Linked DNA regions of Homo sapiens: region 2 is linked to region 1. The links are contacts of gene promoters, found by promoter capture Hi-C in human tissues and cell types (Jung and others, 2019). All regions are on one chromosome and are shown on one strand. The core of a region is centred on a gene start or on the middle of the fragment in contact, and the rest is flanking DNA. Distances in the headings are between cores, read along the strand shown. Region 1 holds the start of CALM1 (calmodulin 1). Region 2 overlaps LOC105370615 (a long non-coding RNA gene).

Region 1 (5,758 bases), core at 2,242-4,741:
AACCTCAGACACAGGGTTTCACAGCTAGAAGGAATTTCTACATCAAGTACAAAACTCTTGTTACATCTGTGTCCTTTCTGTCAGATTCAGAGGGTTAGAGTGATTTGGTTAGTGACGGAAATGATACTTAAACATGAGATTCCTGGCTTGAGGCTGCATCGTTTTTACTTTTCTTCCATTTACTTTTATCTTATTTAAATAACTTCCTATAGAACAATTTCCTTTAAATATGAAATGTTCCATAGGTTTTTGGTTCTCAGTAAATTATGATATTACAATAATGCGGTTTATTCTCCTGATTGCTGATCTCTTCATAAATTAGGACGTGTATTCACTTAAAGCAGTCTATTTGATAATGAAAACCCAGTGATTTCTAAATAGGCAGTCAGAAGAATCTGCTTTATGAAACAGACAAACCCCTAACATTGGGCCTTTAAAATGTTCGGATATCAAGACCACGAATATATTATCTAAATTAGAGCCCCTGAGCAAGGACTCAAGCTCTATTTTATGCCCCATCCCTGACTCACAGTAAGATCCTGGGCAAGTCACTTGACCTTCTTATATTTCAGAGTGTCAAACTGTGAAAAGCATGTCCATAAAACTGTGCAAGCATGACCTCATTATAAACCCGATGAACTTGAAAGCAAAGATGTGCTTTGATACATTAAAGAATTACCAAAATAGAACTCTAGTTTGTAAAATATGAAGAATCAGGAAAATAAATTTTACTATACTAAGTAAAAGGATTCTGAAATGTACAGTTTTTAGCAAGTAAAGTCATAAAAAGTTTCAAAATGTTATATTTAGGTGAAATAAGGTTAATGACAGAGGAAAAATATTATTTTAGAGAATGCTTGGCTTTCAAAACCATAGATTGTAGCAACTTAACCAAAATAATCACAAGGAATGGAAGACTATCAGAAACGAGTAGATCCTTAATAATTAAACACATTTCTAGGCCATTATTTCCCCCTACTTATACAATGCATATCATGTTTTAAAATGTATTTCACTGGCTGGGAGCGGTGGCTCACACCTGTAATCCCAGCACTTTGGGAGGCCGAGGCAGGTGGATCACTTGAAGTCAGGAGTTCGAGACCAGCCTGGCCAACATGGTGAAACCCCATCTCTACTAAAAATACAAAAATTAGCCAGGCGTGGTGGCAGGCACCTGTACCTGTAATCCCAGCTACTCAGGGGGCTGAGGCAGGAGAATCGCTTGAACCCACAAGGCGAAGGTTGCAGTGAGCTGAGATTGCACCACTGCACTCCAGCCTGGGCAACAGAGTGAGGCTCTGTCTCAAAAAAAAAAGAAAAAATGTATTTCACTAACTACTATATGAAAAGCCCCAGAGAAAGAATACCAATACCCTTAGGAAAGAAGCAGTTTTAGTATTATTATTATTATTGGATGGAGTCTCGCTCTGTCACCAGGCTGGAATGCGATGGCGCTATCTTGGCTCACTGCAACCTCCGATGCCCTGGTTCAAGGGATTCTCCTGCCTCAGCCTACTGAAAGTAGCTGAGATTACAGGCACGCGCCACCACACCCAGCTAATTTTTGTATTTTTAGTAGAGACAAGGTTTCACTATGTTGGCCAGGATGGTCTCGATCTCCTGACCTTGTGATCCGCCTGCTTCGGCCTCCCCAAGTGCTGGGATTACAGGTGTGAGCCACCGCGCCCGGCCAAGATGCAGTTTTAATAAGGAGTTTGGCCATTTAGGCTTGTAACTGACTGGATTATTGCATATTCTTTAAAATTAATTTGTATTAGTCCCTTTTCTTCTATTTCCTTATCTCCAACTCTCGCATTAGTATGCACGCTTTATTCCTACTCAGGTTTTCCCCTATGAGCCCAGGAGTATTATTATTATTTTTTTGCAGGGATTAGGATCAGGTTTGTGAAGTGAATAGTGTCTTTCTAATCTGCAGAGGGAAGGCAGCATCCCCTGGCTTGCTGCTGCAGCCTCTCTTTAAATTAAACAGCAGGTTCACTCTTTCTGCGGCATTCCAGAAGGAACATCAGTAGGAACAGCTCCACAGATGCTGACGTCTTGTCTAAGGTTATCCCAAGAAGTCCTGTGGCATTTGCAATGTGCCTGTACATTTTTCCTTTTTTAAAAAACATATTCCTGCAGACTTTGTTGAAAGCAGAAACAAACACAAGCAAGCAAAGCCCTTTCTAGCACAGCATGTTAATCACACACTTTGCCATATTCTGTGAAACAGTAAGCAAATGATAACCTCCAACTGTTGCCCGGGCCCTGTAAAACAGAAGATCAAATTCTGTGTTCTGCCTTGGCAAGAAAAGAAACTGCAGCATTTTGTCTAGATTTTTACAAGTCCTGGGGTTCACATTACTGGCTGAAATTGTTCTTTCTCTACTTTACAGAAAAATGGAAAACACTAGTAAACTTAAAGATTTAAATATTATTTTAAAAGGAATATAATAAAAAATGGAAAACACTAGTATATTTAAAGATTTAAATAGTCTTTTAAAAGGAATATAATCAAAACTGTAGTTTAAAATACAATCTAGCTCCATAAGAGAGGCAATTGGCTGTGTGTTCCACTTGTAATGCAGAGGATTTGAAGCATCTATTTTTTCCCTTGTTTCTATGGATTTATGAATAAAGACTCTGACCCTTCTCAGGATCAGGAAAATTACGAAAAATTTAAAGCCTGGGTTTAAGGTCTGTAGAAGCTGCACAGGTACACTAATTTTAGTAAGACGGGCGCCAGGAAAAAGAACAAAATAGTAGGGGAGAAATATTCAGGCATCCTAAAAAATATTCAGTGGAAACGTAAAAACATTAAAGACTGATTAAACATCGCAGCATGACACAGATTTAGCAACTGAGCATAAATAATTTGACTCGGATACTGCTCCAAAATCCGAAGAGGACCAATTTCTTCCAGGAGGACAACTACCTCGTCCTCTGCAGACCCCTCTCCTCGGCAGCTGAAGGAGTGTGGCCAATCTGCCTCCACCTCCCCGCGGACCCCCTACTCTCAGGACCTCCTGCAGCACCCCAAACTGGAAGTGGCCGCTGCAGACCCAAGGACGAGGGGCACGCGGGAGCCGGCAGCCCTAGTGGAGCGGTTGGAGATGTTGAGGTGGGAGGGTCACCCAGGTGGGGTGAGGCTGGGGTAGGTAGCGGAGTGAACGGCTTCCGAAGCTCTGGGCCGCCCCCAGGTTGGACTAAGCAGGCGCTCTGTCTTCGCCCCCGCCCAGGGTGGGCGTCTCCTGAGGACTCCCCGCCACACCTGACCCGAGACCGCGCGCCCAGCCTAGAACGCTTCCCCGACCCAGCGTAGGGCCGCCGCGACTGGCGCGCAGGGGGCGGCGGGAGGCCTGGCGAACCCGGGGGCGGGACCAGGCGGGCAAGGCCCGGCTGCCGCAGCGCCGCTCTGCGCGAGGCGGCTCCGCCGCGGCGGAGGGATACGGCGCACCATATATATATCGCGGGGCGCAGACTCGCGCTCCGGCAGTGGTGCTGGGAGTGTCGTGGACGCCGTGCCGTTACTCGTAGTCAGGCGGCGGCGCAGGCGGCGGCGGCGGCATAGCGCACAGCGCGCCTTAGCAGCAGCAGCAGCAGCAGCGGCATCGGAGGTACCCCCGCCGTCGCAGCCCCCGCGCTGGTGCAGCCACCCTCGCTCCCTCTGCTCTTCCTCCCTTCGCTCGCACCATGGTAGGTCGGGAGTGGCAAATGCCGGCGTAGCAGCTGCCCGAGATTTCTTCCCAGATTTCTAGTTGTTTTGTTTGTTTTTTGTTTGTTTTTGGTTCTTGGAGGTTTTTCTTTTCTGAGTGTTACGCAGCAGCTGCGCTTAAAGGAGGTTGCATTTTGGATTTGCATCTCGGCGACCTCTGCCAGGGAGCTTCATTTATTGGTTCCCCTTGGAGCTGGACTTGGTCGTAGGCCGTCCACGGGCAGGGGCTCCGGCCGCAACTGCAGCGGGGGTTTCTGCATCCAATCCCCCTGCCCCCCGCCCAGCCCCGCACCCACTGCATCCACTAGCGCCGCACCCGGGCTGCCTGCAGCGCAGCGTTTCGGCCTGGGAGCCGGGCGGGGCCGGGCACTAGACCCCCCCCCCCGGCCCGCCCCTCCCCACCCCGCTTCTCCGCCGGCGCGAAGGTGGCAGGTCGGGCGGGCAGTGGAGAATGAATGGGCTGGAGCTGGCCGGTGGCGCACATTGTTCCGGCCGGGTGTTGAGGGGCGCAGTCAGCGCCCGCCACCTCCCCACTTTGGCCGGCCCTGCTGGGCGCCCTCCCTCGGTCGCTCTCCCCTCCTTCTTCCCGGGGGGCGCGGCGCGGGCGTGGGCTGGGAAGGAAGGAGCCGGGGAAGGGTGGGGTTGGGGGCAGGAAGGCGAGGGGTTGGGGGCGGAGAGGGCGGAAGCGGCGGCCGGGCCGCCCTGCGCCCGGGCGGGGCCCTGCGGTGTGGCCGTGGCTTGTTCCTGCCGCTTTCGCACCCTGCGGCCCCCCACCCAGTGCAGCAGTGCGGGCGGGCGTGAGCCTCGGTGCACCAGGAGGCACTTCCCGCGGGAGGCGCTGGGCTCGCGCTAATTGGGGCGGGGGGGGGGGGCGGCGGGGGAGGAGGGAACTGGCGCGCGGCTTGGTTTCCATTAGAGACGCAAAGTTTCTGCTCCGGGAGGAGGCGGCGGCGCCGCGGGCTCGTCGCCTGGGGGAGCAGAAGCGGGTGGGAGGTGCGGGTGGCCTTGGCCTCAGCCCTGGTGCGCGGGGGCCGGGGGTGGTGACCCTCCTGGCCGAGGAGGGGCGGCGTCCAGACGCCCGCTCGGGGGCCGCCTTCCCCCCCACGCCTGCCCCCGGGCACGCGCCCTGCCCGGTCCCTCGCCCCGCGCCACTTCCAGTCCGCAGAGAGATGCCCTCCACGTTTCTGCTTTCTCTGCAGCCTCTAGATTGCCAGATGCGACTGTGCGCCTCGCTGGGTGTGTTTTCCACAGCCCCTTCCTCCTCGGCGTGCAGGGCTGACATCACCGACTGCGTTTCTGGTTTGGCGGGTGGGGAGATGGTTCCCCGCAGGGTTCTGGTACACCTTTGCCCCCAGGGCTAGCGCCATTTGGGGGAGGAGGTTTTCGTTGTCGAGAAAGTTGGATGCTCCTGGTAACCCCTCTAACAAGAGAGTTCTGTAGCGAGGTGGGACTGTTCTCCCCATAAGGTGACAGTTTCTCTTGCGAGGTGTGGCAGCGCTTCCTGTTGTACAAGACAGATGTTGCCTTGGCGTTACGTAAATCATCGTGTCTCCGTCATTTAAAGAAAGCCAATTTTTAGTGATTGAGGTAGAAAGAAAGATCCGTTTATAATTTGTAAAAACAAATTTTCACCCAGAATCAATATATTGGAACACCATTCCTACTGTTAAAGTTTTCACTTAAGAGTATAAACTTCATCAGCTTTCTATTAGGACTTATTTTGTAATTGGCTTCTTAGGCATCCTTCTTTAAAAGAGAAATCCACGTTAGCTCTCCTTGAGGTCTCGAGTTCCCTCGGCTGGAGGCACAGGTTCAGTGGAGACCAAATAATGCAGGTGAATTACCTTCGTGGCCATTACTGCCTCCAACGAAGTGTGTTTATTAAGAACAGTTCTTATGTCATTCTTAAGGTAGGTAGGGTTAATACTCTCCAGCAAATTTAGTAGATACTCTTTGCCAGAAAAGAGAGGAGTATATATAGTTTGATAATTATTGTGTAGTTTTCTGTGTACTTAATTTTTGCAGTTTTGTAACACTTCATTT
Region 2 (6,074 bases), core at 3,471-5,970, 1.4 Mb before region 1:
TTTCTTGATTTCCGATGATTAAGCTTCTGCACATACCAACCCCAAGACAGGGTCATTCTATAACTTCTTAATAAGGTTAAGGTATTTCGACTACTTGGTCTTCAGTTTCCCTCAGTAATAGAGACACCAAGATCCTATTGCTCTCCAGCAACCAGGCAGGAGAGATTTGAGTCAGAGGAAAGCACGAGAGAGAAGTTAAGAACAGCAATTTCTTAAGTCATAAACGGAGTCAGGACTGTAAGTGTGATTTTCTGTTACCTGCCCCAGACCTCATGGAATTAAACTTTCCTGCCCTGATCCCTTGGATTCGTTTCTCCAACCCCACTCACCTAGCCCGGCCTCCCCGAAACACAAATTGGAATGGCGTTGGCTCCCGGGCACACTAGGGGGCGCCAGCGGGCTTGTTTTCCAGGATGGCCCTAAAATTCTCTCCAGCGAGGAGAGGACCATGACGGCCAGGCCACGCTTGCTCTGAAAAGCGCCGAGCGTGGAAGGGTGTCTTGGAATGGGGTCTAAAAGGGAGAACGACATCCTTATGACTTGCTTTAGGCTGCTTTCTGGATGTATTTTCAGAGCTGGGGATGAGGAGAGGTTGCGTAAAGGTGCCGGCCTGCTGCTGGCCGGGGCTGGCAGCCTTTCAGCCGCCGCGGGTGAGTCAACACCTGGGAATTGCATCCAAGGGCGGCCCTTTCAAGCTGCCTGGAACTTTCTGCCATCACACTGAGGCCACTGTTTGACCCAGTCCCGGGCCAGGGAGGCAGGAGCCGATCACGTCCCAGGGCAGTGCTTCTCCCTGGCACTGAGTCCGTGGAAAGAGGCTGGGAAGGTTCTTTCCACACTTGAGGGCTGGCGTTGGGAAAATAGGGTAGTGCTCTCCGCCCCAGTGAACAGCAAGAGCTCACTTCCCCCAGCAGACTTCTGCTCCACTGGCCTACTTTCAGCATGGAGTGGAAGGAAGCCAGCTCCAGGAGGGCAGAGGCTTCCTCTCCACCCCTCTCTTCCACAACCTTCAACAGGCGCCTTGTTCTCCCCGGCCAGGGAACTGCGGATGGTGACCATCGTTTCCCAGCCCAGCAAGGGGAAATGAGGGGAGGAAATAAACGCAGGGTTTTTATTGCCAAATATTTCTTTCCCTGGGAGGACAACGCATTCAAACCGCTGAGTGGAGATTGGAGTTAGTCCAGCCATAAACCATCTTAATGAACACTAATAGAGAACCGCAATTATTGTTGACTTCAAAATGCAAACAAGAACTTTAGACAGTGATCCCTATCAGCCGGTGAGGCCGGGCACAGATGCCGGGCGCTGTTTTTGCCGTTGCTTAGCAATGGAAAATGAACTGTTCCTGTCTGTTACCACTGGAGGTGGAGGTAGGACAATGAGCTTTATTGGACAGAATAGGTATGAAATTAGTTTATTCTTTTTCACTTGGAGAAGGCAATTGGCAGCCAAGAGAGTCACTCGGAAAAGGGGTATTTTAGAGGTTGAGGGTGACTTTCCTTCTCATTACTTCGGTAAATCCTAACCACCTTGTTTTCCTCTACAGATAAAGTTTGAACTTTTGCCGGGAGTGTCCCTCCAAAACGATCATCAATCAGACAGAATAGCTGCAAATACCAACTCACAGACCAGGTTGGGAATTAGGGTGAGGAGAATGAAATCTTGGGTGCAAAATTTAAGGGAATGCCAAAAAACTTAGTAGCCAGGATAAATAATAGTTTAATGCAATATTTTTTAAAAGTCAAAATAAATGTAAAATAACCATGGTAAAAAAAAAAATCAGATTTGAAATAAAGAGAAGCTCAATATCACTGATTTTTATTTTTCCTTTGGCTTCAGGCTTTAATATGGCACAGTGCGTCAGTGCCACAGACTTTTTACCGCACCAAACACATTTGCAACACGGACAGTTTTGGGAGCTGCTTTTTCCTCAGCAGTGTTGATGCTATGGAGTACAGAGCCCTGTAGCTGGGCAGAAGGGAGTGTCTCTTTCTGCAGTTCTTTAGTAGGCTTCTTCCAGGATAGTAGAGAGGCAAATGGTCTTGGGGAGGAACCTACCTATGCTTCCAGGGCAGTGACACAGGAAGTACTAAGGTACAGGAAGTACTAAAAACCCAGGGCTCAGCAAACACAGACAGTCAGGTGAAATTGCCCAAAACACTGTTCCTCAGACAACAGGGACAGGCCCAGAGCTGGCAGTTTATGGTAAAATTATCTCCTCTTTTGTTATTGGTATTAATAGTAACTCCTATATATTGAGAACCCTTAGGTGGAATCACATGGAATCGCCAATATTGAACCTTTTTTGACCTACAAACCCAATGTATATGGTTTAATCCAATGTATGCTGAGTATGGGAGGCTGAATAATGAACCCCAAAGATGTCCACATCCTAATCCCTGGAACCTGTGAATATTACCCTATATGGCAAAAAGGATTTTGCAGATGTGATTGAATTAAGGATTCTTTTTTTCTTATTTTAGTGATAGGGTCTTGCTATGTTGCCTCGGCTGGAATGCAGTGGCTGTTCATAGACATTATCACAGCACACTACAGTCTCAAACTCCTGGACTCAAGCAATCCTCCTGCCTCAGCCTCCTGAGTAGCTAGGACTACTGGGATGCACTACTGCTCTTGGCAAATTAAGGATTTTGAGATGGAGAGACTATCCTGGATTATCTGATGGGCTTAATCATTGACAAAGGTTCTTATATAAGGAAAAGTCAATGTGATAATGGAAGCAGATTTGAAGATGCTGTGCAACTGGCTTTGAAGATGGAGGACGGGGCCACAAGCCAAGGATTGTTGGCAGCCTCTAAGCTGGAAGAGGTAAGAAGCATATTCTCCTGTGGCACCTCCGGGAGAAATGCAGTACTGCCTATACCTTGACTTTAGCCAAGTGAAACTAATTTTAGACTTCTCACCTCCAGAACTGTAAGATAATAAATTTGTGTTGATTTAAGACACTATGTTTGTGGTAATTGGTTACAGCAATAGGAAACTAATAGACCAGGCATTATGTTAAGTGCTTTATATCATTAAAGAAATGTATACAAATCCACCCTCAGCCTTCTCGATGACTTTCTGTGTTTGGGTTATTTCCTCTCTTTTGCATCCTCAATTTCCCTTTTCTTAGTGGGTCTTTTCCATTGGCATATACACATGCTTTCCTGTTTATCGCCTTCAAGAACAAAATCAAAAAAAAGACCTAATAACATCCACTCACGATTTTTTAAAAAATTAGTGAACTAGAAATAGAAATTTCTTCAACCTAATGCAGAATTTCTACCAAACATCCGTAACAAACATCATACTTAAAGGTTAACAGTTTTTTTTTAATCCCCACTTCTATTCAATACTGTACTGAGGGTACTAGCCAGAACAATAAACCAAGAAAAAGAAACAAAAGATATAACACTTGGAATCAAAGAAGAAAAACAGATATTCACTGAAGGTGCTAAATGACGAGTGAAGCACACCAACATAGCACATGTATACATATGTAACAAACCTGCACGTTGTGCACATGTACCCTAAAACTTAAAGTATAATAATAATTTAAAAATAAAAAAAGATTATTTTCATAAAAAAACTCAAGGAATCTACAGCTAAATTATTAGCATTAATAAGTGAGTTTAGTAAGTTTAAGGGATAAAAGATCAATATTCAAAAGCAGTTGATTTTCTATACACCAGCAACAAAGAGATAAGAAATATAATTTAAAAAACAGTTTCCAGTTGCAACAGCAGCAAATAAGTAGGGGAAAAGTGGGCAGAGAGAAAGAGAGAGGCAGAGAGAAAGAGCGAGACAGAGAGAGAACAAACCTAGGAGTAGATCTGTCAAAAGATGTGTGGCTGGGCACGGTGGCTCATGCCTGTAATCCCAGCACTTTGGGAGGCCAAGGCAGGTGGATCACGAGGTTAGGAGTTCAAGACCAGCCTGGCCAACACAGTGAAACCCCGTCTCTACTAAAAATACCAAAAAAAAAAAAAAAAAAAAAAAAAAATTAGCCAGGCGTGGTGGCACACACCTGTAATCCCAGCTACTCAGGAGGCTGAGGCAGGAGAATTGCTTAAACTGGGGAGGTGAAGGTTGCAGTGAGCCAAGATCACACCACTGCACTCCAGCCTGGGTGACAGAGCAAGATTCCATCTCGGGGTGGTGGTGGGGGGAAAGAGGTACAAGTCTTTCATGGAAAAAAATACATAAAATTTCATCAAAAGGTATAAATAAATGGTTTATAAATTCAGTTCAGTTCAATCAACATTCAAATAGGCTTTTCTTCATGGAATTTGACAAGCTTTTTAAAAAATTAGCATAAAAAAGCAAAGGACGAAGAAGAGCCAACAAAGAAAGTAGGGAGTCTTGTCTATTAGATGTCAGACTTACTTCACAGTCAATAGTAATTAAGACAATGTGGTATTTACATAGATCAAAATCTAAATCAGAATGGAATAAAGAGCCCAGAAACACATATAGAAGTGTGATGTAAGCCAGCACTAATATTGCAGATCCAAAGGGGAAAGGATAAATTAGTCAAAAAGAGGGGGAAAAATAAATATATACACTATAAAGAAACAAATTCTTATTGATAAAATAAAAAAAGAGAAAGATGAACAGTTTAAAAATTTAGAATATATTATATAAAGGATTTTAACCTGGGTTCCACAGACATCCACTGGTTTGTTGAGCATAATTCAGTACATTCATGATCATGGATAGGAAAAAAATTAATGTTTATTTTCACAAATCCCAAACTGAAAAATTAAAGATTCAATTATGATCATGGACAACAGACCATAGTAGCCTTGCAGTATCTGTGACTTTGCCACTAATAAAAATACAGATAGGTTTATGTCGTATTATAGTTATTGCAGGTATCTCATAATATTATTTATGCACTCAGTACTTGGAAATTTACAGCAGTTATTAGATATTCTGCTAAATCTTGATATTTAATGCATTAAGAAGGAGCACATGTGTTATATATCATCACTTTAAATATTTTAATAACTATATTTCAGCATAATTGGTTTTCTTTGTAATTCTATGAGTTTCATTTTTTACCTTTACCAACATGACAAAGGGTCCACGGCATTAAAATGGTTTAAAAATCATATTACAGAAAAAATTGTATTATAGAAGAATATTCATATGACCTCAGCATATACAGAAAGATTTCCTAAACAAGGCAAAAGAGGAAGCCATAAATGAATAGAGTGATAAATTTGATTACATTAAAATTATAAACTTTTTCTATCAAAATATATAATACTATAAAGAAACTAAAAGATATGTCACAAACAGAGAGAAGAGATCTGCTTCATCTACTTAACAAAGGATTAGTATCTGGAATATCTGAAGTCTACAAATCAATAAAGAAAAGACAGACAATTCAATCTTTTAAAGGACAACATTGTATGGTCTTCTGGGAAAGACCATACAATGACCAATAAACATTTGAAAAAATGGTCAACCTCAGTACATTGAGAAAAGGTAGTTTAAGACAAGGAGCTACTTACTATTTAATAACCACATTGTCCCAGGTGAATATTTTTAAAGTATCTGGCAATACCAAGTGTTGGCAAAGATAGAGAGCCAGGGGGACTTTTACATGCTGCTAATGGGAATATAAATTGTTGTTTTGGGAAAACCGTTTGGCTTTTTTTGTTTGTTTGTTTGTTTTTTTTGAGACAGAGTCTCGCTCTATTCCCCAGGCCAAAGTACAGTGGTGTGATCTTGGCTCACTGCATCCTCCACCTCCCGGGTTCAAGCGATTCTCATGCCTCAGCCTCCTGAGGAGCTGGGATTACAAGCGCGTGCCACCACGCCCAGCTAATTTTTGTATTTTTAGTTGAGATGGGGTTTTGCCATGTTGGCCAGGCTGGTCTTGAACTCCTGACCTCAGGTGATCCATCCGCCTAGGCCTTCCAAATTGCTGGGATTACAGGTGTGAGCCACCGCGCCCAGCCGTGGCATTATTTTTAAGGTGGAAGATGCACATACCCTAAACCCAGTAAAACCCTTGCATATGTGCACTAGGAGTCACATTCAACCCAACTTGCCAAGAATGG

What was found. Contacts are between HindIII fragments. The study calls those that stand out against the background at their distance.
Region 2: a contact is called between a fragment that was not itself captured here and the fragment with the promoter of CALM1 in region 1, in 1 of the 25 tissues and cell types used here (lymphoblastoid cells).

What each region holds. Positions count from the first base shown.
Region 1 is chr14:90,393,538-90,399,295 of GRCh38, forward strand. It overlaps CALM1 (calmodulin 1), which reads left to right and starts at 3,492. Exons shown (of 6, transcript NM_006888.6): 1 at 3,492-3,696. The coding sequence starts at 3,694. RefSeq lists silencers at 3,184-3,603, 3,884-4,043, 4,054-4,603, 4,684-4,753, 4,794-4,863 and enhancers at 3,288-3,582, 3,704-3,753, 4,924-5,223. The HindIII fragment of the contact is 12,028 bases long and covers 1-5,758 here.
Region 2 is chr14:89,040,135-89,046,208 of GRCh38, forward strand. It overlaps LOC105370615 (a long non-coding RNA gene), which reads left to right. Exons shown (of 3, transcript XR_944128.3): 1 at 1-1,645; 2 at 2,484-2,829. Among named protein-coding and RNA genes, the nearest start is that of TRA-AGC15-1, 64 kb to the left of the region's middle. RefSeq lists a silencer at 285-344 and enhancers at 645-764, 816-1,372. The HindIII fragment of the contact is 5,119 bases long and covers 2,162-6,074 here.